Linked DNA regions of Homo sapiens: regions 1, 2, 3, 5 and 6 are each linked to region 4. Evidence: promoter capture Hi-C in 16 types of primary human blood cells and fetal thymus (Javierre and others, 2016). All regions are on one chromosome and are shown on one strand. The core of a region is centred on a gene start or on the middle of the fragment in contact, and the rest is flanking DNA. Distances in the headings are between cores, read along the strand shown.

The links. Contacts are between HindIII fragments. The CHiCAGO score rates a contact against its expected background, and 5 or more counts as called.
Region 1: a fragment that was not itself captured here is called in contact with the fragment with the promoter of FRRS1 in region 4 in 6 of 17 cell types (megakaryocytes, M2 macrophages, M1 macrophages and 3 more); the score reaches 7.2 in megakaryocytes.
Region 2: a contact is called between a fragment that was not itself captured here and the fragment with the promoter of FRRS1 in region 4, in 1 of 17 cell types (erythroblasts). The highest score is 5.2, in erythroblasts.
Region 3: a fragment that was not itself captured here is called in contact with the fragment with the promoter of FRRS1 in region 4 in 5 of 17 cell types (non-activated CD4 T cells, activated CD4 T cells, total CD4 T cells and 2 more); the score reaches 9.2 in non-activated CD4 T cells.
Region 5: a contact is called between a fragment that was not itself captured here and the fragment with the promoter of FRRS1 in region 4, in 14 of 17 cell types (total CD8 T cells, total CD4 T cells, non-activated CD4 T cells and 11 more). The highest score is 12.3, in total CD8 T cells.
Region 6: a contact is called between a fragment that was not itself captured here and the fragment with the promoter of FRRS1 in region 4, in 1 of 17 cell types (non-activated CD4 T cells). The highest score is 6.3, in non-activated CD4 T cells.

The regions. Positions count from the first base shown.
Region 1 is chr1:100,889,195-100,893,398 of GRCh38, reverse strand. The region is part of intron 1 of EXTL2 (exostosin like glycosyltransferase 2); the gene reads left to right. Among named protein-coding and RNA genes, the nearest start is that of EXTL2, 3.5 kb to the left of the region's middle. RefSeq lists a silencer at 3,239-3,439. The HindIII fragment of the contact is 9,761 bases long and covers 1-4,204 here.
Region 2 is chr1:101,282,884-101,287,628 of GRCh38, reverse strand. No RefSeq gene overlaps it. Among named protein-coding and RNA genes, the nearest start is that of LINC01307, 39 kb to the left of the region's middle. The HindIII fragment of the contact is 2,118 bases long and covers 2,247-4,364 here.
Region 3 is chr1:100,846,613-100,851,396 of GRCh38, reverse strand. No RefSeq gene overlaps it. Among named protein-coding and RNA genes, the nearest start is that of EXTL2, 46 kb to the left of the region's middle. The HindIII fragment of the contact is 954 bases long and covers 1,988-2,941 here.
Region 4 is chr1:99,764,593-99,768,934 of GRCh38, reverse strand. FRRS1 (ferric chelate reductase 1) reads left to right here and starts at 2,300. Exons shown (of 17, transcript NM_001361041.2): 1 at 2,300-2,328. The HindIII fragment of the contact is 6,315 bases long and covers 1-2,553 here.
Region 5 is chr1:100,868,561-100,872,738 of GRCh38, reverse strand. It overlaps EXTL2 (exostosin like glycosyltransferase 2), which reads left to right. Exons shown (of 5, transcript NM_001033025.3): 5 at 1-348. Among named protein-coding and RNA genes, the nearest start is that of EXTL2, 24 kb to the left of the region's middle. The HindIII fragment of the contact is 690 bases long and covers 1,793-2,482 here.
Region 6 is chr1:101,437,294-101,441,917 of GRCh38, reverse strand. No RefSeq gene overlaps it. Among named protein-coding and RNA genes, the nearest start is that of LINC01307, 120 kb to the right of the region's middle. The HindIII fragment of the contact is 935 bases long and covers 1,475-2,409 here.

The DNA of each region.
Region 1 (4,204 bases), core at 1,689-4,188, 1.1 Mb before region 4:
ATGCCCTTGGAGCAGTGTGAAGGGACAGCTGTCACTCAGTAAGTCTTTCCATAAATACTAAGCCATTCCTTTTGCCCTTTCAATATGTCGTATTGGAAAATCAAAAATGATTCTTCAACTCTGTTCAAATGGTATCTTGCAAGTCACCAATCAGAATTCTTAATTCCTTTGTATGTTACAAGATTAAATCGGTTTATAAGATCATAAAATACATATACTATTGAACATTTTTAAACTAAAAAATGGATTTCTACCCTGAACTTTTAAATATGTTTTTATATCTCTCCTACCAACTAATTGCATTAGGTTAGCTATGCAGACTCTATGGGTGGAAAAACCCCAGCTGCTCAGACGTGTGACTGAGGATTCTGAGAAATGAAAGCAGAGAGAATTAAGGGGCAGAAGCTCATTTCAGTCATGGTTTCAGCTCCTTTTGGGCAATGGTCAGCAAGGAATAGGAAAGATGCTATCTGTCATTCCTCAGTAATCAACCCTGGCATTTATCTGCAACCCTGTTTGACCCTTTTAGATGCTTCAAATTGAGCGCCCTGGGAACTGCTGGTTAAAAAAGGAGTTGTAAAGGTACATAAGAATACAAATTCATATAAATCTAGAAACTGGATACAAGTGCAAATTGCTGACATGTTCAAATGTTTTGCTCCATGGCATACATCCTCTGGTTTCAAATGTGTAACATTAGATAGTTGGGATCGTGTGCATTTATTTTGCTTCTGGATCCTTATATTAGGGTTCTCTGGAGGGACAGAACTAGGATAGTTCTGGTAGGATAGATGCGTATATGAAAATGAGTTTATTAAAAAGAACTGACTCAAACAATCACAATGTGAAGTCCTACAATAGGCCATCTGCAAGTTGAGGAGCAACAAAGCCAGTAGTGGCTCAATCAGAGTCCCAAAACCTCAAAGGTAGGGAAGCCGACACTGCCGCCTTCAGTCTGTGGCCAAAGACCTGAGAGCCCCTGACAAACCACTGGTGTAAGTCTAAGAGTCTAACAGTCAAAGAACTTGGAGCCTGATGTTCGAGGGCAAGAAGCATCCAGTACAGGAGAAAGATGAAGCCCAAATACTCAGCAAGTCAGCTTCTCCCACCTTCTGCCTGCTTTTCGTAGCCAGGCTGGCAGCCAATTGGATGGTGCCCACCCACATTGTGAGTGGGTCTTCCTGAGAGTGGGTCTTCCTGTCCTAGTCCACTGACTCAAATGTTAATCTCTGCTGGCAACACCCAGAAACACCCAAATACACCTAGAAACAATACTTTGCATCTTTTAATTCAATCAAGTTGACAATATTAACCTTCACAAGTCCATCCCTTGTCAACTTGAACCCATACACATTTCTTGAAATCATACCTAATCTCCAAATAAATGAAACTGCCTTTGCAAAAATTATAACTGAGGAAATTATGACAGTGAAAGATATCAGACCTAACCAACTCCGTCTTGCTTCTAACCTCTAAACGTCCATTCCTGAATGTAAGCCAAACTAGCCTTGGGAAGGAATTTAGTTTATAGTTTAAATAATAGCCCTTCCCAAAAGCTAAACTGTTGTTGTAAAATGATTGAAAGGCCACCAGGCACCAAGTTAGGATGAGAGGGGCTGGAATTCTAAATATTACCAGCCATTATTCCAGAGGTCATAAGATTTGCAACTTTTCCAGTTACTCTTGAAGATAACATCACTATTGTGAAACTAAGATTGGCCTTTTGAGATGTCTTTTCAGGTTTTTGCATTTCTGATAACTGGATGGCCCCACCTGGACCTGCCAACCAGTTCTGTGGCCCCCACCCTGGAGCTGAGTCAGCATAAAAGGACAGTTTTGACTCCCTAAGATTTCATCCACAAGCCAACCAATCAGCACTCCCAACTCACTGGCCCCTTACCCAACAGATTATCCTTAAAAACTCTGATCCCTGAGTTTTCCAGGAGGCTGATTTGAGTAACACTAAAACTCTGGTCTCCCGCACAACCAGCTCTGCATAGATTACTCTTTCTTTTTTGCAATTCCCCTGTCTTGATAAATTCGTTCGGTCTAGGTAGCAGGCAAGGTGAACCCATTGCATGCTTACATAAAAACAATAATACGGTCATAATTATGCCTAACAATACAGCTATCCTTTATACAACCAGAAGCATACTAATCCTTAACCTAAATGCCATTACATAAAGTTAACAACACTTAAATGCTGATATGATGTCAATAAATGTCACAGGATACAGGAAAAAGAGGGGAAATATAGATATATTCTTTATTCTTAGTACAAGTGTATACATGCATAAACATATTCTTAACAAAATAAGGAGGAAAACTCATGACAATTACAGTCCTAATTTCTGCAACTGCTTATGTGGTCATAGCTGGTATTGATCACTACCTTCTTCTACTACCCATTCTGTATTCCCTTTGCTTTCAGCAAGCACCTCAGCAGGTCATAGTTTTTTACCTGGTGAAGTAAATTGGTACTGCAGAGAGTAGGGCATTGGTATAAAAATATCCAAAAATATGGAAGAGACTTTGGAACTGGGTAATGGGTAGAGGATGGAAAAGTTTGGAGAGCTCAGAAGACAGGAAGATGTAGGAAAGTTTGGAACTTCCTAGAGACTTGTTGAATGGTTTTGACCAAAATGCTGATAGTGATATGGACAATGAAGTCCAGGCTGATGTGGTCTCAGATGGAGATGAGGAACTTATTGGGAACTGCAGCAAAGGTCACTCTTGCTATACTTTAGCAAAGAGGCTGGTGGCATTTTGCTCCTGCCCTAGAGATCTGTGGAACTTTGAACCTGAGAGAGATGATCTGAATTTGGAACTTGTGTTTAAAAGGGAAGCAGAGCATAAAAGTCAGGAAAATTTGCAGCCTGACTATATGGTAGAAAAGAAAAACCCATTTTCTGGGGTGGAATTCAAACCAGCTGCAGGAATTTGCATAAGTAACAAGGAGCCTAATGTTAATCACCAAGACAAAGGGGAAAATATCTCCAGGGCATGTCAGAGACCTTCACAGCAGCTTCTCCCATCACAGGCCCAGAGGTGTAGGAGGGAAAAATGGTTTCATGGGCTGGGCCCAGGACCCTACTCCTACTCTGTGCAGCCTTGGGACTTGGTGCCCTGCATCTCAGCCATGGCTAAAAGGGGCCAACATACAGCTCAGGACATTGTTTCAGAGGATGCAAGCCCCAAGCCTTGGCAGCTTATACATGGTGTTGAGCCTATGGGTGCACAGAAGTCAAGAATTAAGGTTTAGGAACCTCTGTCTACATTTCAGAGGATGTATGGAAATGCCTGGATGTCCAGGCAGAAGTTTGCTGCAGGGGTGGAGCCCTCATGGAGAACCTCTGCTAGGGCAGTGTGGAAGGGAGAAGTGGGGTTGGAGTCCCCACACAAAGTTGCCACTGGAGCATTGCCTAGTGGAGCTGTAAGAACAGGGCCACCATCTTCCAGACCCCAGAATGGTAAATCCACAGACAGCTTGTACTGTGCGCCTGGAAAAGCCACAGACACTCAAACGCCAGCCTATGAAAGCAGCCAGGAGGGGGACTGTACCCTGAAAAGCCACAGGAGTACAGCTTCCCAAGACTCTGAGAGCCCACCTCTTGCATCAACATGTTCTAGATGTGAGACACAGAGTCAAAGGAGATTATTTAAGAACCTTAAGATTTAATGACCGCCCCACTGGATTTCGGACTTGCATGGGGCCTGTGGCCCCTTTTTTTTGGCCTATTTCTCCCATTTGGAATGGGAGCATTTTTCCAATGCCTATATCCCCACTATATCTTTGAAGGAACTAACTTGCTTTTGATTTTACAGGCTCCTAAGCAGAAGGGACTTGCCTTGCCTTGGAAGAGACTTTGGACTTGGGCTTTTGGGTTAATGCTGGAATGAGTTAAGACTTTGGGGGACTGTTGGGAAGGCATGATTGTGTTTTGAAATGAAATTTAGGAGGGGCCGGGGTAGAATGATATGGTTTGGCTGTGTCCCCACCCAAATCTCATTTTGAATTGTAATCCCCATAATCCCCACTTGTTGTGGGATGGACCCAGTGGGAGGTGATTAGATCATGGGGACAGTTTCTCCCATGCTGTTCTTGTGATAGTGAGTGAGTTCTCACAAGATCTGATGGTTATAAAAGTGGCAGTTTTTCCTGTGCTTACTCACTCTCTCCTGCCCCCTTGTAAAGAAGGTGCCT
Region 2 (4,745 bases), core at 2,056-4,555, 1.5 Mb before region 4:
CACAGAGTCGACAAGAATTGCATGCTGGGTTCTGAACAGAAATATAGATGTAATGAAATATTAATCAAGCTGTAATTTGATCCACTTTCTTGTTGCTGAAAATAACGTAGCACTAGATATTGATCATTGGCATCCCCATCGTTCCTATAGATAGGATTTCTTTTTTTATTATTATTATTAATTTATTAATTTATTTTTTTGAGACAGGGTCTTACTCTGTCACCCAGGCTGGAATGCAGTGACACAATCGCAGCTTGCTGCAGCCTTGACCTCCTGGGCTCAAGTGATCCCTCCCACCTTAGCCTCCAGGGTAACTGGGACTACAGGTGCATGCCACCATGCTCATCTAATTTTTTTTTTTTAATTGTAGAATTAAGGTCTTGCCACGTTGCCCAGGCTGGTCTCAAACTTCTGGGTTCCGGCGATCCTCCTGCCTCAGTCTCTCAGCCCAGCCTAGATAGTATTTCTGGCATTAGGATCATAAGACTTTAAGAATTGATTTGCATCTCCACTGCTCCTGTAGACAGGATCTCTGACATTAGAATCATAAGGCTTTTGTTTAGGAACCGTTTAAGATGTTTTTCAGATCCCAAATTCCAGCAAAATAGCTGATGCTAACCAGTTTGAAGACCCCCACTGAGGAGGAATGGAATTGGCATGAAAATACAGCTTCTTCATCTCCTTGCCCTGACTTCACCCTCCACTCTTTGATCAATCAATGATCTCCAAATTTCAGCCTACTCCCAAACCTCTATAACCCCTAGCCACAAATTCCTTTAGGAGGTGGATTTGAGGTTCCTTCCAATGTCCTCATTTGGTGGTCCTGTTATTAAACCTCATTCTCTGCTGCAACCCCATGTCTCGATCTATTGACTTGCTGCACATGAGGGGCAACAGGTGGCAAGGCAACAGACCTCCGATGGCTGCAATTTCTCTATCTATCTACAATGTTCTTCCCCATGGTTTTCCTTTTTTCTTTTTCTTTTTCTTGTTTTTTTTTTTTTTTTTTTTTTGGCAATCTTTCTCATTCCTGAAGGCTCAGGTCAAATGTCACCTCCTCCTTCCATCAGGAAGCTTATACCAGGCCTCTCTCCTCTAACATCCCATGGCACACAGAGCCTCTACTACTTTGTTGGTGCTTGTTTTCTGCTCTGTATTGTTAGTTGTCTTTTGTCTGTCTCAGCTCTTTGTAAGTTCCTGAGGAGAGCAGAGAAGTCGGCTACTTCTTTGTGTGGGCAATGGTTTCCAGTACAGTGTCCTACTCATGCTTGTATTTCTTCTGACTCAACAACTCTGCCAGAATCTCCTCCACATGGACTAAAGGGAGGCAGGATGATTTAGAAAAAGCTTTTTATAACATAGGACTAAAGGAATACAAGTCTATGAAAAATTAAAACTAAGCTAACAATTCCACTGTCTCCTAAAAGTACTAAGAGGATATATCATAGGGTACAGGATAAGCTCTAGAGTCAGACAGCCTGAGTACATAGCTTTGCTCCACCCTTAACAAGTTGTCTCACCCTGAGTAAGCCAACTTACTTGAGAAAATATTAATAGCACCTAGTTAAAAGGGATTTTTATTTGTTTGTTTTTTACTGTGGTAAGAGTACTTACCATGAGATCTGCCCTCTTGACAAATTCATAAGTGCACAATACATTAATGTTGCACAGCAGATCTCTAAAACTTATTCATCTTGCATAACGGAAACTGTACACTCATTAGAACATGAAGGTTTTTTTAAGAAATTCTACTTTGAAATAACTTTAGACTTACAGTAAAGTTGCAAAAATTGTAGTTTCTATATACACTTCACCCAGTTTATTGAAATATTAGTATCTTACATAAATGTAATGCAATTATCAAAACCAGGAAATAGACATTGATACAACAATATTAACCAAATCTACAGACCTTGTTTGAATTTCACCAGTTTTCCCACAGATTTCTTTTTTTTGATCCAATCCAGGATCTCATATTGCATTTAGCTATTATATCTTCTTCATCTTCTTCAATCAGTGATAGTTTTGGAAAATCCAGGACAGTTATTTTCAAAATGTCCCCCAGGTTTTCTCATGAATAGATTGAAGTTATGCATTTTTGGCAAGAATGGCACAAATAGGATATTGTGCCCTTCTCAGTGCATCATATCTGGAGGTACATGATCTTGGTATGTCCTATTATTGATGAGGTTATTCTTGACCACTTGGTTAAAGTGATGTATGTTGGGTTTCTCCACTGTTAAGCTTACTATTTTTTCCCTTTGTAATTAGTAAATATCTTTTAGGGAGATACTTTGAGACTATACAAATATTCTATTTCTCATACTTTCACCAACTAATTATAGTATCCATCCATGGGGCTTGCCTACAGCAATTACTACTATGGCATTTGCCAAATATTAATCTTCTATTTTTCTGATTCCTTCTACATGTATCAACTGAAATTCTACTGTAAGGAAGAGCTATTTCTTCTTCCCTATTTGTTTATTTGGAGGCATTTTATGAGGATTAAATGAAGTAGGACATTTACATGGTGTCTGGCACACGGTGAAGGCTCAGTAGGTGTGAGTCATCTTTAATATTATTATTACTGAGACAGTATGGAAGTTATGTAACTAATTGTTATGTGACTAATATTTTCTAGTTAGAAATGAGTATTTCTAACATGTTTAAAGGTGTTCCAAAATGGTCTACTATATTAGTTTGCTAGGGCTGCCATAACAAAAGATGACAGATTGAGTGGTTTAAACAACAGAAATTTATTTCTTGCAGCTCTGGAAGCTGGAAGTCCAAGATCAAGGTGTCAGCGGGTTTGGTTTCTCCTCTCTCCTTGGCTTGGAGACGGCCACCTCCTTGCTGTGTCTTCACGTGGCCTTTCCTCTGTTATGTTGGCACCTCTGCTGTCTATCTGTGTGTTCTCATTTCCTCTTCTGCTAAGGACTGGTCAGATTGAATTAGGGCCACGCTAAGGGCCTTATTTTAGCTTGTTCAAGTCTTTAAAGGCCCTGTGTCCCAATACAGTCACATTCTGAAGTACTGGGGCTTAGAGTTTCAACACATGAATTTGGGAAGGGGGAGACGTCATTCCACCCATATCTACCTATTTGCTTTGAAAAACTATTGTGAGCAAATCATTTAACATGTGAAAGCACTTTCAGAACTGGAAAGCACCGTACAAACATAAGGCAATAGTATAACAATACGACAAATTTTGGTAAGCATTCATGCACTTTACATTTCAGGTACTGAAGCATTCCTTTACAATGTTATTGCCATTATTCATTTAACTTTCCTTTCACGGCTGCCACGGAACTCTGGAAGGCCCACTTCAACCCGGGCACTGTCTGTGTTATCGCACATCCTCAGCGAGTGTCAACCACATCAGTGTGTTTTGCTTGCTTTTTGTCTTTCTGAAGCGTGGGCTTTCAGCAGCTCATTTCAGGCTATCCCAGCTACCTCTTCAGAGGCCCGAGGCACCTCCTTCCTCACAGGGAAAGCTGCCTGCGAGGCGGCCGGCAACCGCCTCATTTCCCCGTCTACCAGCTGCGTAGCCTTGGGCAAGGCCCCTCCGTGCAGCACTTCGTCCCAATTCCACGGCTGAAAAAGAAGGATAACAATCCTCACAAGGAGGCTGAGGATTAATGAGTTAATCTTTATAGAGCATTTGGAGAGCACACAATGGACAAACCCCTATTTATCTCTTTGTAGAACTAGCCTACAAACTAAACTCCCACTAGGAAACTAGGACCCTTTTATATAATGTTTACTTGAAGGAAGCAATCTGCAGATTCTAATAAATCTTAGCTTCCCAGAAGTGGGAAAAAGCACACATTTCACTATATCTGAGTAAGTAAAAAAGTAGAACAATTTCTCCCCACCGAAGGTTTTGCTTATCAGAGGCTAACAGAGGCCAGGGAGAAACTGTGACCTGTGGTCTGCCTTGCCTGTCATGGATAAGGAAGAACCAGAGACTCTCCCCAGGGCTGTCAAATGTTTTTAGAGCTGACATCCTTGCGGTCCACAGCCTCCAAACTCAGAGCGTGTGGGAGGAGGGGATGGATACAATTTAATTGCCTCCTGCAACTTGCCAAGCCCACCACCATTTTCCCAGGCTAGCAGTAGCCATTCCTTGCTTAATAGTAGTGCTTTCAAGCCCTTCAGAGACAGGAGTACTTCAGCAGCCAAAGTGGGAAGTCCTTCTTCCAAGTCTTCCAAGGCCTTTGGCCACTGCCAAAGCACCCCAGAAAAGTCTGTCTGTAGGAACTGTCTCTGTTTACCATGTTGCATTACCTCTTTGCTCAGAATCAATCACTCCACCTGTGATTGATTGCCAGGGGCCACCAATACTGCTTTAGGGGGAAGCTTTTCTCCACACCACATCCCTTATTTTCCTTGCCTCACTCCCAGGCAATTTTCACCACAGGTCTGGCAACAGCCTTCTAAATGATCTCCATAATTCTGCTCCCTAATCCCTACTGCATGGTCTTCCCTGCTCCTCTCCACCTATCCAACTTCTAAATCTGAAACAATAAAATCTTACAAATCCCACCTCTATTCTCATATCCCTTGGAAGTTCTTGTTTAAAGGATCAGTAGAGATTAGCCAGGCCAAGAGAATGCCTGTGTGTGAGACGGGGCGAGGAGGGAGAGAAGAGGGCCAGAGAGCAACAGGGACTGCAGAACAGCACATACAAAGTCGTGATGTGAGAACGTGGCTCACGTATGCAACTACTCGGGACTCAGCAA
Region 3 (4,784 bases), core at 1,215-3,714, 1.1 Mb before region 4:
AAACCTGTAATTTACTGGTAGTTTTAATTTTCATGTAAATTACTATTTGGGAGCATTAACCATCAAATTTCTTATGTATATTCTATAGTGAGTATGAAGTTCTTGGGTCATAAGTATGAGCATTTAAGAACATAATTTTATTTTTATGTAACAACTTGGTTTTGATTTTAAGATCTTTTTTTTCCCCAGTAGCAGATAAAATAATTAGATCAGTTCTGGGTAAACTCAGTTGTTAGGGTCTTCTCTCCTCTCTGATGTGAAATTTAATTTCCAGGAGCTTTTGGCATGGTGGTTTCTGATGGGGGTGATGGAAGGATAACTGGCTCATGCTTGCATCTGTCCTTCATATTGGCTCCCATGAAGATGTTCTAGCCCATGGAGACTTGCACAAACCTTCCTGATGGCATCTGCAGAGGTGTCCCTGTTCCCACCTGCACCATAGTGGTGTGGTCCCTACTGCTTCCCCCTCATCAGGGAGTCCCCTCATTATGACCATGAGCCCCTTGCCAATTCTCTGGCTAGTTTCTGCACCCCTTTTGAAAAGCAAGAAAATTAATTCCTCTCATACACCACTATTGGCTCTTAGGAAGCTCAGTAAGGTGACCTTGGGCTTTAGGTGCCCACACCCACATACACAACCACATCTGCTACTAAGCCTGTTCCATGACGGTAGACGGAATTTCTGGAGACAAGGTTGTCTTCAAAAATTCCCCATGATCTTACTATTCAAAGAGTGGACCATGGATTATCTGCATTAGGATCAACTGGGAATGTGCAGACTCCTGGGCCACATTTCAGAACTACTCAATTAAAAGTGTATTTTAATAAAATCCTCAGGTAATTTTTATGCACATTGAAATTTGCAAAGCACTGATCGGAGATACAGCATAGAGTTTCAATTTACCCTCAGAACCTTGACTTCATCTAAGGATTCTATTGCTCTCATCTCCCCGAGGGGCTAATTACTGAGGGAGAGGTATGGGGAAGTAGGGTCTGGTGATCTTTTCTAAGAGAGTTTTGTCAATGTCTTAACAATCTTGTTTCCCATCTCCACTATATCCCTTTTCTTCTCTTAGTCCAGATAAAGGTTTAAGTTATTTTCTTCTGAGAGAGGAAAATGCTCCAGCAAGTATTTGATTTAATCTTTCTATCACATAGGTGGGCATTTTAAACTGAAAAGCCAAGAATGTGTTATATTTATTTTCTGATTGTGCTGTAATTCCCTCTCCTTCCCTTCTTCCTCACATCTCTGCTTGGGCCATTGGAACAATTCAGTTTAGTTGCCTGGATAGGGGAGGTTCAGGGTCAAGGTAATATAGGAGAAAGCAATTAATACTTGTCCATATCATCTCATGGGGATAAGGATTTTATTTAGGTTTTAAAATATTTTAGACTCAAATGGATTTATGTTTTCTAGAAAGCCAAACTACATTTCTGAAACTGTAGTTCATTCTGTCATATTGAAAGTCCTTCTATAAGGCTGTGTTTTCTGAAAATGGGCTTTGCTCATAGAATTTTTGTGTGTAGATAGTGAATATTGGGCAAGTAGACTGATAGAAAGGACTTAAGCCTCTTCTGTCTTCAACAGTCCAGTTTGGTGCAATAGTTGATGTTTCAGATAGGTCTTCTTTGACTCTTTAAGAGTGAGCTATGCTCACTTTGAGTTCCAGGTATTTACTTCGATGTTAGCATTTAACACTTTGGTCACTGTATCCCTTATTAGACTACAAGATTACTGAGGACAAGGATCAGAGTCTCTTTCACTGTTTCATCCCCAATGCCTAGCCCAGTTCCTGGCTCATAGGAAAAACAAACCTGCTTGGATGAATAAATGAGCAAATTTATTGGTATTATTCAAAATTTTCCTCACTGAGCCTCAATACATGAGAGGGAGAAAATAAATATATAAAGTGTCATGGAAGTCTTTTAGTCCAATCACTGACTCAAAGTAAGAATCCTATATATAGAATCTCTACAGAGTCAAGCTTTTGCTAAAATATTTCCAGAAGAGGGAATATACTTAGGTTTTTTCCATTTATGGATCATTCACATTTTTAGAAAGTTCTTTCTTTATTGAATCAAAATCTGCCTCCTTAATTCTGTCTGCCCTTTGGAGTTTTATAGATTTCCATTTCTATAGTATAATTCTCCAAGTTTGCTAAAAAGACACAAGTTCAAAAAGATTTAAAATGTAGTAAGGATGGCTCATCTTGCACAGAAATCACCAACAGCTGGAACATCTGCTTTCTCCCTGATAAAATAAATAGGCTTTGCTTTGAATTTAGGTATTTATGGAACTGTCAGAAATGGAAAGGGAGAGGAATATGTGGGTTTGGCTACCACATTCAAGGAGGGAGAATTACCTTGATTTTTAGCCTTTGATGTGAGAGCAGCATCGTTTAGGTGCTTTATGATATCTGTCATATAACACAATATGGGGATTCATTTCTGGTTGTGGTATTTTACATTTGAAAATGCTCATCAAAATTTCTCTATGTGCCCTTGTTCTATGCCCATATAGCTACTCCCTACTGTCATTATCACTCCAAATTCTACATTTGAAAGACCAGAATTACCTCCTCCTCTTAACCAACTGTTTCTACCAACTACTCTATCACTGGCACTATTATTCTCCCAAGAGCAAAAAATACGTGGTTCATTTATCCTGCTCATCCCCACATCCTCTCAGCTACATAGTCGTGAGCATTTCTCACCTGTAGTGTTTCTTACATTTACTTCTTCCTCTCCAGTAATGATGAGGAGGCTCTCATTGCTACATGATTCATTTGCTGCTTCCCTTTCTCACTCCTGCTCCTATCCTGTTTTCGTGAAGAAGACATAGCACAGCTACATTATTTTTTTCTTGAATTCCATTGTCATCAATCTTTCACCTAATTTAAAATCCCAAACATATGGATGACCTGGTACATCAGTCTAAGCTTCTCTACTTCCATCTCAAGGTCCTCCTTCAACCCCAAAACCCTTAACTCTCAAATTGTCCAGGCTCATGTTAGCTACTGCACCACCCCATACAACCCACCCCAAACTCCAAGCCCACTCCAGTTGGTACCCTCTTTCCTTGCAACCCATCTGCACCCCAACTCATCCACAGCTGTGCTACATTTGCATTTGTATTGATCTGCTCTCTCTTCTGTGCCAATTCTTAAGTTATATTTTCCCCACAAGTTTTTATTCCAGTTATTCCAGGCCTTATTCTTCTCCTTCTCTTTCTATCACTTAACATTTTTATTGTGAATTATGATTTTAAAACAGGTAAATAAAACATGTGCACAGTTTTAAAACAGGTTGTGAAAAGAATACCCATGTAACTACCACTCAGATAGGAAGGAGAGTATTCTGGGAACCCAGTACATTTTACAGTACTAATAGTCTGTACCTCATAATTTAGTACTTATGGTAATTAAGTATCATCTTGCCTTGTCTTATGGCTTAAATGTGCCATTGTATTCCTCCTACTCTATTGTAGGCTATTGAAAGGCAAGGGCTCTACAGATTATTCTTTAGAATATCCCACAGTGTCTCAAACTGTGCTAAGTAAATACTACATATTCAAGAGATGCTTGTTCATTGATTACAGACTAGGAAAAAGCAACACTTAGTACAAACAATATGTATGTTTATGTCCAAAAACTAACATTGTTATATCTTTCAAACACATGTTAATCTTTAGGAAATAGCACAGTTCTAACGTCTTAGCTTCTTTTTTTCCCACATATTGTCCTCCTTGGTTTCGGTTTTCTTTTCTTTATATGGCATTCAGCTTTCCTGGTGATTTCTCAGGGAATTTCCAGTTTTACAAAGCAGAATATAAAAGAATGCCTTGATAATAAATAGAAGTCCCTGGCAACACAGTAGAAACACCAATGATTGCCTGTCTTAATTCAGTTAAAGAACTGCTATAATCACAAAGCAGTCTTCTCTCTTCCACTGCACAATTCTCTCATGAAAAGAAACTCTGCATTGCATCCAAAGGTCTTTAGCAAATGTTAATAACATTCCACATATTGGAGGTTTTATCACACAGGACCTCCAGCAAAGATTCCATAACAGCAATAGGAAGAAAAATATACATATATATATATATATATATATATACACACACACTCTAAATATATATACTAAGGAAATAGTAAACCTAAGAAATGCACATTTGAAAAAAAAAAAAAAACTAATCCCTGAAGGAGTTCTCAGTGCAGGACATTTGACTTAAGGAATTGTGCATTGTAAATTACATTAAAAATGTATAAAATATGCTGATAGTGATATACAGCAAAACAGCATACATATTACAAGACAACAAAGAACTCTAATGTTTGGTCAGATCTATGAATCCCTGAGATGTTGGGTTAAGTAAGTATTCCTTACATAGGAGAATCTGTGATTCAGCAGCAGAAAGAAGGAAATCTATTCTTTTGTCCTATCTTACAGTTTCTATGACTGAGGCAAAATTCATTATATTAAAGAAGCATTTCTTGTTCCAGCTAATTATAATCAGACAGTGGAGAAAAGCAGAAAGAAAACTTACATTATCAAAATGGATATATTTACAAGAGCTTAGTTCATGCATAGAGCATTAACTAAGGCCACAAGTGAAATAGCTGTATTAGGTAAGGTAGTAAACCACCAAAAATGGTATCTGACAATCATGGTGTTCAATCAGTTAAGCAACTAAGCCTAACTGTCAAGCTTCAGATATGAGGAAATGGACAAAACTATTTGGAAGGCTTATATTTTTATTAATTTAGTTAACAAATATTTATTGA
Region 4 (4,342 bases), core at 1,051-3,550:
TAGTAGAGACAGGGTTTCATCATCTTGGCCAGGCTGGTCTTGAACTCCTGATATCGTGATCCACCCCCCTCGGCCTCCCAAAGTGTTGGGATTACAGATGTGAGCCACTGAGCCTAGTGAAAGGGTTGTTTTAGACAAAGCTAGCCTCTCTCTCCATTCAGTTCTTCCCACTGTGTCGTACCACTTCCTAAGAGTGCTTTAGAATGTAGGGTTCTGATAATATAGTCGAAGAGTTTTTGTTTTATAGACATATCATACTTTTGGCATGCAATGGGGACAGTTCCTGGAAAGGGTCTGTTATCTGCAGAAGGCTATTTCACCACTTGAGGCTTTGAAGAACTGAAGATCAGCTGACTTAGTTTAAAACTATTCATGTTCCCAGCAGCTTTAGGATAGCAAACCAACTCTGGGTCATCTTTATTTAAAGCCTCTCTTTAATAACCTGTAGAGAGGGGCTTTTGTTAATTGTGACTAGTTCTTTAAGAGAAAGCGTAACGTGATGGTGTTCCTTTCTCTGTTCTCTCTTTAAAAATGGTTTAAAGAATTTACTGGGGTTGATTGATAACCAGCATTCACAGGTCAAGGCATGGGTCATAATCTATTTTCCAGTCTGCATATGTTGAAAGCGCCTTTGCAAAAAGGCTTTTTGCAAAGCCTTTTATAACTGAGGAAATTATGGCAGTGAATGAGAACAGACCTAACTGGCTCTGTCTTGCTTCTAATCTTTAAGCTGTCCTTGTTCATTCCTGGGCATATGCCAAACTAACTTTGGGAAGGAATCCAGTTCATGTTTTGACTCTGAAACAAAATTGGTAGTAGCCCTTTCCTGAATAGACCCCCTTCTTGCCTGGGGACCAGTCTGCCTTTGCAGGACCAACAAATTAGCTACAAGATTAGAAATTATGGTTTAGGGGTCATGCAGCCTCTGGCTCCAAGAGTCTGAACCTCCCCAAATTGCTCCTGGGGATAACATCACTATTGTAAAACCTAAGATCAGTGCTTGAGATATTTTGCAGAGCCTGGACTCGGTGGATCAGCTGATGCCACACAGACCGGTAATTGGGCTCACCCAGTTCTGCCATCCCACCCAGGAACAGAAGACAGCAAGAAAACCTCACGTCGACCCCCCATGATTCCATCTCCAATCTGACCAATTAGCACTCCCACTTCCCAAGCCCCTACCCGCCAAATTATCTTTAAAAATTCTGATCTCCGAATCCTGGGGAGACTGTGTTGAGTAATAATAGAACTCCGGGCTGGGCGCGGTGGCTTATGCCTGTAATCTCAGCACTTTGGGAGGCTGAGGCAGGTGGAATCACTTGAGGTCAGGAGTTCCAAACTAGCCTGGCCAACATGGTGAAACCCTGTCTCTGCTAAAATACAAAAATTAGCCGGGCGTGGTGGCGGGCGCCTGTAGTCCCAGCTACTGGGGAGGCTGAGGCAGGAGAATCGCTTGAACCTAGGACGGGGAGGCTGCAGTGAGCCGAGATCATGCCACCGCACTCCAGCCTGGGCCACAGACAGAGACTCCGTCTCAAAACAAAACAAAACAAAACAAACAAACAAACAAAACAAAAAACTCCGGTCTCCTGCACAGCCAGCTCTGCGTGAATTACTCTTTCTCCATTGCGATTCCCCTGTCTTGATAAATCGGCTCTGTCTAGACAGCGGGCAAGGTGAACCCACTGGGCAATTACAATGTCACTCAAGGTCTGAAATGGAATGTTTAATATTTTCAATTACATTAAAGAGAAGAAAAAAAGTAAAAAACAGGAAAACAAAAAACAAAATAAAAACAAAGATTGTTAAAAATTCAATTACATTGTCTTTTCCTAGCCCTAAAATTTTTCTTTTGCAAAAGAGTCTTGTGAAACAGATTAAAGGCTTAAAAAGAAACAAAACTCCTAAATTTCAGGGGTAATTTGCAAAATAAAAGATTTCTTTTGCATTATATCATTCACACTGCAGAAAGGTTTCGGTTCTATGCAATCTGATCTTTTTCCACTTTTTAAAAGTTAATTTGCTTTTACTTAGCACTATTATAGAACAGGTATTTTCAAATAGTTTTGCAATTAAACACAAAAACTATAATTTTTGTGGCGAAGTAGGTACTAGTTGGCAAACACTGTTCCTTAGTGTAAAACAGAATTCTAAGTTTTCAGAAATGGAGTCCTAAAACTAGCACTGGTCTTGCAAATCAAGTTCTGCAGCTTAGTTTGGGAAAGGTTCCCTTTTGGCTCAAGGCTTAACTGGCTCCACCCAGCTGCTGAAATGTGATACAAGTTGTAACAAAACCGGAAGTTGGTTAGGCTGCCTTCGCTTCTCAAGGTAAGTGTCACGTCTTTTTCCTTAATGTCAAAGCTCTTTGTAAAGCGTTAAAAATCAAATCCAGCTTAGCGACAGACTGGAGAGCGAGTGCCTGTGCTGACCAGGGCAGTCGGCCAGGCAGAACGGGTGCTGTATTCCGAAACTATGTTCTGGAGCTTGAATTGAGCTAATGAGTGTTCACTAACGAGTTAGGTTAATATGTCCTGTGACTTTGACTAACAAGCTTTAATTCCAAGATATGGGTGGTTATAAGTAGAGACGTGTTTGGGATCCTGAAAATCATTGACTTTATTCTTGCAGGAGTTTTTTTTTTGTTTTTAATTTTAAATTTAAAACTGTAGGAACTCTTTTTTTATATTTAAAGCTAGTGGCATGGTTACCTATATCAGGGTCACTTAGAACCTTATTTGGTTTTTAAAGTGGCTTTTTATCTAGAACTTTTAGTCCCCTTACCCTCCCACTCCCTAGCCCTGGTGTGTCGTTAAAATTTCAGAAAGACTCCAGGGTGGCAAGGTGTTATCACTGCACTTATTTTTGTGTGTGCTTGTCATACTGCCCTAAAGGGTAAAGGGGATTTTTCAAATTGTAAATGTGTTATTAGGAATATTTCTTAACATAGCTAAACTTTTCAGTTCAGATATTTTCATTTGCTTCTGTATTTTTATTTTTTATTTTTATTTATTTATTTATTCATTTATTTTTGAGACGGAGTCTCGCTCTGTCCGCCAGGCTGGAGTGCAGTGGCGCGATCTCGGCTCACTGCAAGCTCCGCCTCCCGGGTTCAAGCGATTCTTCTGCTTCAGCCTCCTGAGTATACTGCTGGGATTACAGGCGCCCGCCACCACGCCCGGCTAATTTTTTGTATTTTTAGTAGAGACGGGGTTTCACTGTGTTGGCAAGGATGGTCTCTATCTCCTGACCTCGTGATATGCCCGCCTCCGCCTCCCAAAGTGCTGGGATTACAGGCTTGAGCCACCGCGTCTGGCCTATTTATTTATTATTTTCGAGACGGAGTGTTGCTCTTGTGGCCCAGGCTGGAGTGCAACGGCGGGATTTCGGCTCACTGCAACCTCTGCCTCCCGGGTTCAAGCAATTCTCCTGCCTCAGCCTCCTGAGTAGCTGGGATTACAGGCAGGCACCACCACACCCGGCTAATTTTGTATTTTTAGTAGAAACGGGGTTTCTCCATGTTGGTCAGTCTGGTTTCGAACTCCCAGCGTCAGGTCATCTGCCTGCCTCGGCCTCCCAAAGTGCTGGGATTACAGGCGTGAGCCACCGCGCCCAGCCACTTCTGTATTTTTAAAAAAGTGGTAAGATTTGAGTATTATACTGGGATAGAACTGAAGTTGGGGGCTTAATTTGATCTATCAGCTTATTGAAAACAAAGACCTTTTAAGAGATGGTTTTGTTAGGTTGGAGAAGTGAGTTTTAGTTCGTCATTTAGTTAGCCAGTATGTTGATTTTTTTGGTGAAGTGTACTCTCTGTTTCACACCTGTCAGCTTTTTTAATATTGGATTTTCTCAAAATTCACATAACAATCACACTGTATGAGTACTGTTTTGAAGGTTGTCTGCTAGTCAGAATGAATGGAGATCAATGTGTAGGACACCTTTACTGATATCCAGAGGTTTACCAAAAGACAAGTCACCAAATGTGGCAGAAAAACATGATAAAATTTATTAGGAAAAACTAAAGCTTATGGAGTGAACAGTTATTTCAGGTTGGTGGAATTAGGCAAGAATCCAAGAAAGGAAGACAGTTTTATATGGGAGACTTTGTTAATGGTGGTCATTGTGCTAGATATTTTGGAGATAGTATTTTATTTAATCCTCATGCAAGCCATTGATATTGGTGGCATTGTCTCTAACAAGTGAGAAAACTAAGACTCAGTAAGGTTAAATAATTTGTCCAGGGTCACTATGGTGGTGCCTGCTGGATTACATTAATGGACAGATTCAAACCTAGGTCTGTGATATTTCAAAGTCCATACACTTCATTGTATCATAGGACAGT
Region 5 (4,178 bases), core at 888-3,387, 1.1 Mb before region 4:
TACCAACTTCTCTTTCTCCTCCTTTCCCTCTTATTCCTCCTTCTCCTCTTCCTTCTTATATAATGCTAGTATATTCTCAAAATTGCAAAGCTGTGAGAATATTAAAATAATCATGGCTAATGTTCCAATAATGAGGTCTTTGTGCATTTAGTTCCGCATATGATGGTTTTTTTTTTACATTAAAGAGTATATGTGTCTTAATGCAGTCAGATTGTAAAAAACAAAAACAAAGAAACTAAGAATCTTACTAAAAATCGATAATGTCAGTTATCTGTTTTGTCCAATATTGGTAGTACTTTTTTGCCTCTTATGATTCCTCTAGCAGATAAATAAAAGAAACTTTTGCCATCCATGTGTTCTGTGTTAACTAAGCAGACTCATGTTTTTGTGATTGGTGTTCTTACACATTTCTAGATATGATACTCTAATATGTTGCTGAGAATAAGGTAGAGACATTAGCCACATTACCCATGAAAAAATATTCCCAAATTTTATTTCCCATCTTGTGTCTTTAAACTTGTCTTAAGCATCACATAAGTTAATCATATCATGGTTTCAGATATTATAGAGCAAATAATATGAAACCAAAGTGCAGTTCAGTCTACATTACAAAGACTCTTGCATTGTAGATAGACTCCTATTAAAGCTGTCTTTCCCTGAACGCCTCTTATTCTTGCCTCAAATGATCTGGAGAAGAGATGCTCAGGCTTAAAACTTTGTAAGAGAAGCAATGCAACGTAGCGGGTCAATTGTGCACACTTTGCCATTAGAATACTTGGGCTCAAATCCTTGCTAGACCTCATTTTCTCTTTACTCAGTTTCCTTATCTGCAAAATAAGGATAATATCTGCCTGGAGTTTGTTTTAAGGAATAAAAGAGATAACTTGCATAAATACAGCACAGTGCCTTGCCCATTTTAGATGTTCAGTAAATGAAAGCTGTTGGGATGACAGTGTTATTGATAATAAGGACAGAATTAATCCTTCCACTCACCACCTAGGTGTTAGGAAGCCCCTGCATCCACCAGGTGAGACATTCAGGAAATTATTTGCATTTAACTATGGGTAAGGAACCATGGCAGTTTCATCTCCTATTCATTATTTATTTCAAATACTGTTTTTCCTTTCTTTTTTTTTGAGACGGAGTCTCGCTCTGTCAAATACTATTTTTCTTATGATTAAAGCAGTATATATTCATTCCGGCAATTTTGGCATATTCAGAAAAGTATAAAGAAGTAATTAAAAGCCCACTACCCCAATTAACAATGGCATTTTTGTATGTGTTCCTGCAGACTTTTCTAGGCATATATTTTACTAGCATGATTTATCTGGTATTTTATTATATGAATAAACCATAATTTATGCACTCAATCATACTACCATTTTATTTTATACTTTTTTACCATTATAAAAACATTTGGATAAGTATCTTTGCCTTGAAAAGATATCTTTGAGCATATCTATAATTATTTCTTTAAAATCAAGTCCAACAAAGTTCAATACCTGGGTCTATCTAGTAGTGTGTGTGCTTTTAGGGTTTTGCTACATACTGCTAAATGCTTCCAGAGGTGTTGACATGGCTAGCCTATTCATACCACATCTGAGAGCACCTGTTTCCTGTCAGTTTCCCAAAATTGAGTATTATTTAACAGGTTCTTTCATATATTTTTTCTACATATAAAATACTCAAATAGTGCTGGATTTGAAAGGCTGCTCATTCATAGAACTCTGTGTTGAGAAGACTGAAAAGGCAGGCAATCAACTATCAAAAAAACTGGAGGGCAATATAAGCTTCAGGAAGCATTTGACAGCTTCTAAAAACTTTACTCCAAGGTTTAGAGTATAAACAATGAAAATTTCCTGGTACCAGCAATAAACCGTTTGGAAGCAACAGAAATGGCCACATTTGTTTCCTCTGGGAAGACCTAAGGCTTTGAACCTGAGGCCAGGAAGGGATATCTGTGTGTGCTAGAATACATGCACTTGAGGGGGTAGGAGGGACAGGGAGTGGAATGTGGGAGAGGGAGTGGAGGATATTGCTGTGATGGAGGATGAGTATGAAGGTACTGAATCTCAAAGGTTGCCACAATGACTTAAATGGTGAGATTATATCATCCTCTATCCCATGCCAGCTTTTATCGTTTATTGTTCCACTAAGTTGCTTTCAACTTTGTTCACTTTCTCCCTTCCCTCCTTCTTCCCCTCCCTCATTCTTCTTTCCTCCACTCCTTGAAAGCCTTCTTAATATACAACTCAAATATATAGCTACCATAGATGAAAAAAAGACCATTTGGTACCCTAGAAACATGCACTGAGTCCTGGGTTGACTTAATTTCATCTGAAGAATAGGGATGAAAATACCTGCCCCAAGATTCACAGGCCATAACGTGTAAAGAGAACTTTGCAATAGCAGGAAAATTAAAGAATATTGTAAAAGCCATCACTGATAAACAGCAGCTTGGCCAACAGTTAAAAAGAAAGCTTGGTTGTGAAGTAGTAACTGTGTCAGAATTATACCTTAGAGTATAAAAAGAAGCGAGAGTAAGTATGCAAGTACTGAAAGCAATTTAAGGGGCCCACTTTAGCTCTAGCTCAGAAGGAATATGTAAATGAAGTATTTATTTAATCTAGAGAGGCCTCAAGTCTCTTTTCTTTTTCATATGTCAATATTTCTTTTATCTAAAAGGAAAAAGAATCAAATTCTTGATTGGAATATTTTCAGTAGTTTAAAAATATATATATCTGAAGCAATCAGTCTTACTTTATAGCCGTAGGTCCTAACCTGGACTGATTTTGCCCCCGAGGGGACATCTGGCAATGTCTGGAGACATTTTTGGTTGTTACAATGGAGGGCTTGCTACTGGCGTCTAGTGAGTCGAGGCCAGAGATGCTGCTAAGCATCCCACAATGCACAAGACAGGCCCTCACCACAAAGAACTAAGTGTCCCAAAATGTCAGTAGTGCTAAAGTTGAGAAAAAATATATTTGGCATTATATTATGGAATATTTCATCAGTCTTGTATCATATCACACTACTTATCACAATGAAAGTTGCATTTTTAAAGTTTTATCCTGTATAACAATGCCTATTGGAACAGAACATTAAGGGAAAATGTGCTTGTATTTCTGATAAAACATCTGATGCATGATGCTATGACCCTCAACCTCATCAAAGAGCCAGAAATTTCCCTGGTTAAGGTTTATTTTTGATTCATTTTCTTTTTCTCATCCACATACCTCTTTCTATTTTCACATATTGAAGAAATAGAGAATGGAGCTTGATTTTCTGGGAGGGAACATATGAATGAATATATATATTTCTGAAGCACCACAGAGAAATATTATATAATATGCTGTGTGTTTTAATAATGTCTCAGAGAAAGTCGGCATGGTTGAGTTAAAATAAGCTAAATATAAATTCTCAGGTAAGCATACTTATGTGTGAGTATGTGTGTCCAAATATTTTTGGTTTAAACAATAAATAATATACAGCTAGTGAAGACAATTTATATAGAAAAGAATCTTGCGATGGGAGAATCAGGGAACTTTCTTTCTAGTATCAGCTAGGTGACTAAGTTAATTAAATTTATCTGGGTCTCAATTTCCACATATACAAAAGAGAATGACAAACTAAATGGTCAGGAAATTTATTTCCCGTTTCAAAATTCCATAACCCTAAACGTGAGTATTGAATTAATAGGTTTTAAAGTAGCTATATTATACTTCCCAGCAAGAAAAAATTATCCCGTAGAGTTTAGCTCTGTTGGAACCTCCCCTACATCCTAATCCTATCTCCCCAGAAACACTGTCTCCAAGTGAATTCTAACTTAATAAACATCACTAGTTGTTTGCTGCGTTTTAGGGCCAAAATACGTGATGATGATGTCATCACGCAGTGGTAAACACCGACTGGAAGAGGTTGTGATTTCACAGATATTTTACTTCTTAACAAAGCTATTTAATGGATACCACTGGCCATTATGAAGAACTCGAAGACAGTTACAGCAGGCTAACAAACCACTTGACTCAAATTGAGCTATGAATCAGAAATGATCATATACAGCAGCTAATTTTTTAAACCCAGAATGCAAATACGAATTGTAAAAACAATTAAATTATTTGATTTCATTTACACTGGTGAAACATGATTTTTATGGAATTTACTGTCTGACCAGCAGA
Region 6 (4,624 bases), core at 693-3,192, 1.7 Mb before region 4:
TCCGACTCAAAAAAAAAAAGAAAGAAAGAAGAAAAGAAGAAAGGAAGAGAGAGAGAAAGAGAAAGAAAGAAAGAAAGGAAGAAAGAAAGAAAGAGAAAGGAAGGAAGGAAGGAAGGAAGGAAAGAAAGAAAAAGAAAAAGAAAGAAAAAGAAAGAAAAGAAAGAAAGAAAGAAAGAAAGAAAGAAAGAAAGAAAGAAAGAAAGAAAGAAAAGAAAGAAAGAAAGAAAGAAAAAGAAAAAGAAAGGGCTATGTTTGTATAAACATGTTTTTAAAATTATCACATTATTTGCTAATATAAACTTAGTATACATAATATATTTATGAAAATAAACTACAAGGAAATCAACTTTTGTGTTGTTAGGATGAATCTCTAGCTATTGAATCCCTGAAACCTTAAGAAGCAAATTTTTGGAGGCCAGTCAAGTCCTCTATGTGAATCCCCAGGACTGGCTTAAGGAGCTTTCACCCTGAGAAGTCATTTAACTGAGAGCATGGAGAGGGTAGTGGAAACGACTCAGGCATTGTCACCAAACCAACCTGGGCTTTCATCCCGCACACCCTGTACTATCTGTGAGAAGCCAAGAAATTGACACAATTTTTCAGAGCTTGTTTCCTCAGACGTTACCAATAAAATGGGAGAAAAAAAAAACTCCTTGGGATTATTAGAAAATCAATGACATATAATGTGCAGTAGAACACAGCAAAGCACTGGACCAGAGTGAATAATAAATAATAAATAGAGTTGTCTGTCCTTGCCTTTCTTTTAACCAGCCTTCCAACCTCACAGATATGACTATACCAGCTCATATTGGATCACATGCTCCACATAAAATACTCTGTGTCTGTATATGCAGGACTATGAAAAAGGTATGCTTTGTGCATATGTTTGATGCCCTTAATTGCAGCTTCTTCCAGACTGCTTCTTATTTTCTCCCACCTTCTAATCTGGCAGTACTTTAGAGGGTTCAAATTGGCTCTGACCCTAAAATAACTTACTTTTGCTTCTGATAGTCCATAACAAGAAACATTTTTATGGAATATAATGGAGAGCTGGCAGCAGGCTGAGAATCTAACACAAGACTTTAAATGCTGCAGTTATCCATCAGTCACACTATAGAGCAGGTCACGCATAATAAACAGCTGCTTTATTAGGTTGATGGAGTATGCAGCAAATACAAAATGACGGAAAGCAGCTACAGACCAGAAGCTGAGAAGTCGCAGGAAAATGTGCTGGTGTGGGCCAATTCATGGATGCCATTGACAATCATGCCAGAGATCAGTTCTGACCAGCACACATTTCTATACTGGGAAGCCCCGGGACATTCCAAGCGCAAGAGCCAACCATCCCTGCAGGGAGGACAACCAGTATCCAGACCAAACTCTTCTGTCAGTTGGCTGCAAAATCTACTTTTCTCAATACTGAGATGCTACTAAATAAACATGTAACATGAATAAAGATAAACTATTAAAAGCTTATTTTCATGTTAAATTAGCAAGGATATTTGGGGATTTGTTTCATGGCTTTAATCCAGGCATATTCCTCCCTCATCTTTTTTTGAAATAGACTCAAGTTCTGTTTCTGACTTTATCCTGGGAGCATTTGTTTGTGACATGCAGAAAATGGGAACTGAATAGCCAGCAAGCCAAAAAGGGCAGACGATGCAAAGTCTATAAGGCAAAATGGAATGTGGGGAACAATTAGACGGCTCAAACTCTTCTCCTTCTGAGCACCACTGCATTTCCTTTTATTCATATTGTTTTACTAACCATCCCCCACCCCATAGGAGGAAAGGGATCAAAAGCTCATCAGCTATGCTAGCTTGAGAGTTGTAATCCCGACAAGCCAGCTAAAAAGTACACAAGTTTTTAAGTATATGCAAATGTGCACTGGTTCCTCTACTAATCTTATTTTGCCTTCTTTTTTAAGAATACTTTTTGGTTTTTTTTCAGACAGGGTCTTGCTCTGTCACCCAGGCTGGAATGCAGCAGTGGGATCTCTGCTCACTGCAACCTCCACCTCTAGGGTTCAAGCAATTCTCCTGCCTCAGCCTCCTGAGTAGCCGAGATTACAGGCGGATGCCACCACACCCAGCTAATGTTTTTGTATTTTTAGTAGAGATGGGGTTTCACTATGTTGGCCAGACTGGTCTTAAACTCCTGACCTCAAGTGATCCACCCACCTCGACCTCCCAAATTGCTGGGATTACAGGTGTGAGCCACCACGTCCAGCCTAGAATATAATTTTTTAATGTGATTCCATTTTATACTATGCCATTGTGACTTTGTGATCCATAAGGATGTCACAGAAAAACATACTATTGAAATCATGAGATTATAAGAGTATATGCTTAAGACTACGTCCAGCCAAATTACAGTTGATCATTTCATGGGGGAAAAAAAAAGAAAGCTTTTGCTCGTTGATCTATGCTTTTTCCATCTTAAAATTCCTTATGTTAGTATTTCAAGTCAATTTTTGTTTCCCTGCATAATCCAAGCAATTGCCACAATTTTCCATTTTACTTTGCAAATATTCATACATCAGGCATAACATTTTGCAATGATCTATCACAACCAGTTAAGTCTGTCTCTATAAACAGTAACTTTATTTTCTGAACCAAAAACAGGCCACCTGGGCTGCTGGGAGGGCAGAGTGCTTTACACCCAGCCTGTATCCCTGATTCACTCCCTTCTCCATCAAATAAGTATTCAAAACTGCCACTAGTGTTATCTTTCTAAACTGGAAATCAAATCAAGTCACTCCCATGCTTCAAACCTCTTGATGTCTTCTCTTTTTCTGTAAGATAAAATCTAAACTTCTTGGTTGAACAAGCAAACCCCCAAATAGCCAGGCTCAAGCCATCTCTTTCTGAAAAGAGAATCCACTTCATAAGCCCTTCCATCCAGCCATTCTCAACTTCTTGCCCTGGCTTAACGCAGCCTTTTCCAGATTTCATATCTTTGTACCGGCTATTCTTTCTGTGGAAATATTCTTACTCACTCCCAGTCCCCCTCACCCCCACCCATACACACACTCACTTCTACTTATTCTTCAAGACAGATTCCAATGTCTCCTCAGGGTATCTTTCCAAGACTTTCCCAGGCAGTTAGTTGTTTCTTAACAAGTTATTTGTGCCTATATCAAAGCACTCACAACATTTTATATCAATTTATCTATTTATACATTTATGTCTCCTTCTAAGCTATAGCTCTCTACAGTTTTAAGTAGACTATTTTGATGGATAACTCCAAATTGTAACTGTCTGCTGGAAGCTGGAGACTATTTTTGCCTCAGGCTCATGAGGTGAGTTCTATCAGGATCAAGGCTACCACGTGGGGGAGATGTTGTAAAGAGAGTACCAGCACTGGGGCAGGGAAGGGACGAAACAGTGATCTTTAATAATTCTTTGATAACTTTAATTTTTTAATGACTCTTCCACACCTAAGATGATGAGCGTAGGACAATAGAAATAGCCTCACAACAATCTTTTTGGTTCATCAGTAACCAGCAGCCATAAGCCAGGGCTGCCATAAGGCTTCACTACAGAGAAAGGCAGCATACTTCTAGCTAATTTATTAAGTTGAGACTCCACATTAGACACAGTCTGGGGTTAATAGCTGTGATTTTTCTATCTCTAAAAAGCTAATTACAAAGACCTATCATTCCCATTTTTGTTGGTAACTAAAGCAGTTCAAGAGGTATGCCTATTGGGGAAGTAGGAGAAGTTAGAGAGGCTTAATTGGGATAGTTGCTAATTCCAAAGAAGAGGAAACATAATAACAAAAATGCTTTTTTTTTCATTACAAAGAAGTTCTCTTTGAACTACAAATATAAGCTCTAGACAAAATGCATTGGCCCAAATATTTAGATTCCTGCTGACAGTCAGAGTCAGTGGTGGACTGATGTCATGCCAACGGACATGCAGTGTGAGCCTTTAACTTAAGAGTGCTAGGGCTAATTAGACAGGAAAATTACACCATGCCACATCCAGTTCTGGAATGTGTATTTCCACTACAGAATAGATAACAACAATGTGTAGCAGTACATCTCACATCTTCAGACTTGATCTAAGACAAAGAACAAAATACTTCAGGAATAATTCCTGAAGAACAGAATGGGATTCAGCCTTTTTTGCCTCTTCACAAACCCTTAAAAACAAAAAAGGCAAGCAAATCTTTTTTATATCTTAATTTTCTTCCACTTTATTCACAAGTTATTTTTTCCCCTTCCTCCTATGGGGTGGGGGATGGTTAGTAAAACAATATGAATAAAAGTAAGCCTCCTCTGTTGAGTTTCTGGTATAGGTGCAGAACAGTGCCAGCCTCTGTTCCTGGTAGCTAGACACTGTGCCTAGTGTGGAAACTCCACACATGCACTCTCCAGTGTCTGGGAAAGATGCCTCCAGCTGACATAGACCAGTCCCTGCCTTGCCCAGAGTCTGAAGCCAGTTTTATCCTGAGTACCTCTCCTCACACCGTGGGAATTCTGATTTTATTTGGTTCTAAACCCCAGTTCGCTGCTAGCTGGAAAGACAAGAACTAGAATCCTGTGCCTCCTCTCCATCTTTAGGAACCTCTACACACTGCAGAGTTGCTAACACAGTTTTCCTAGAAGCAATCATCTAAA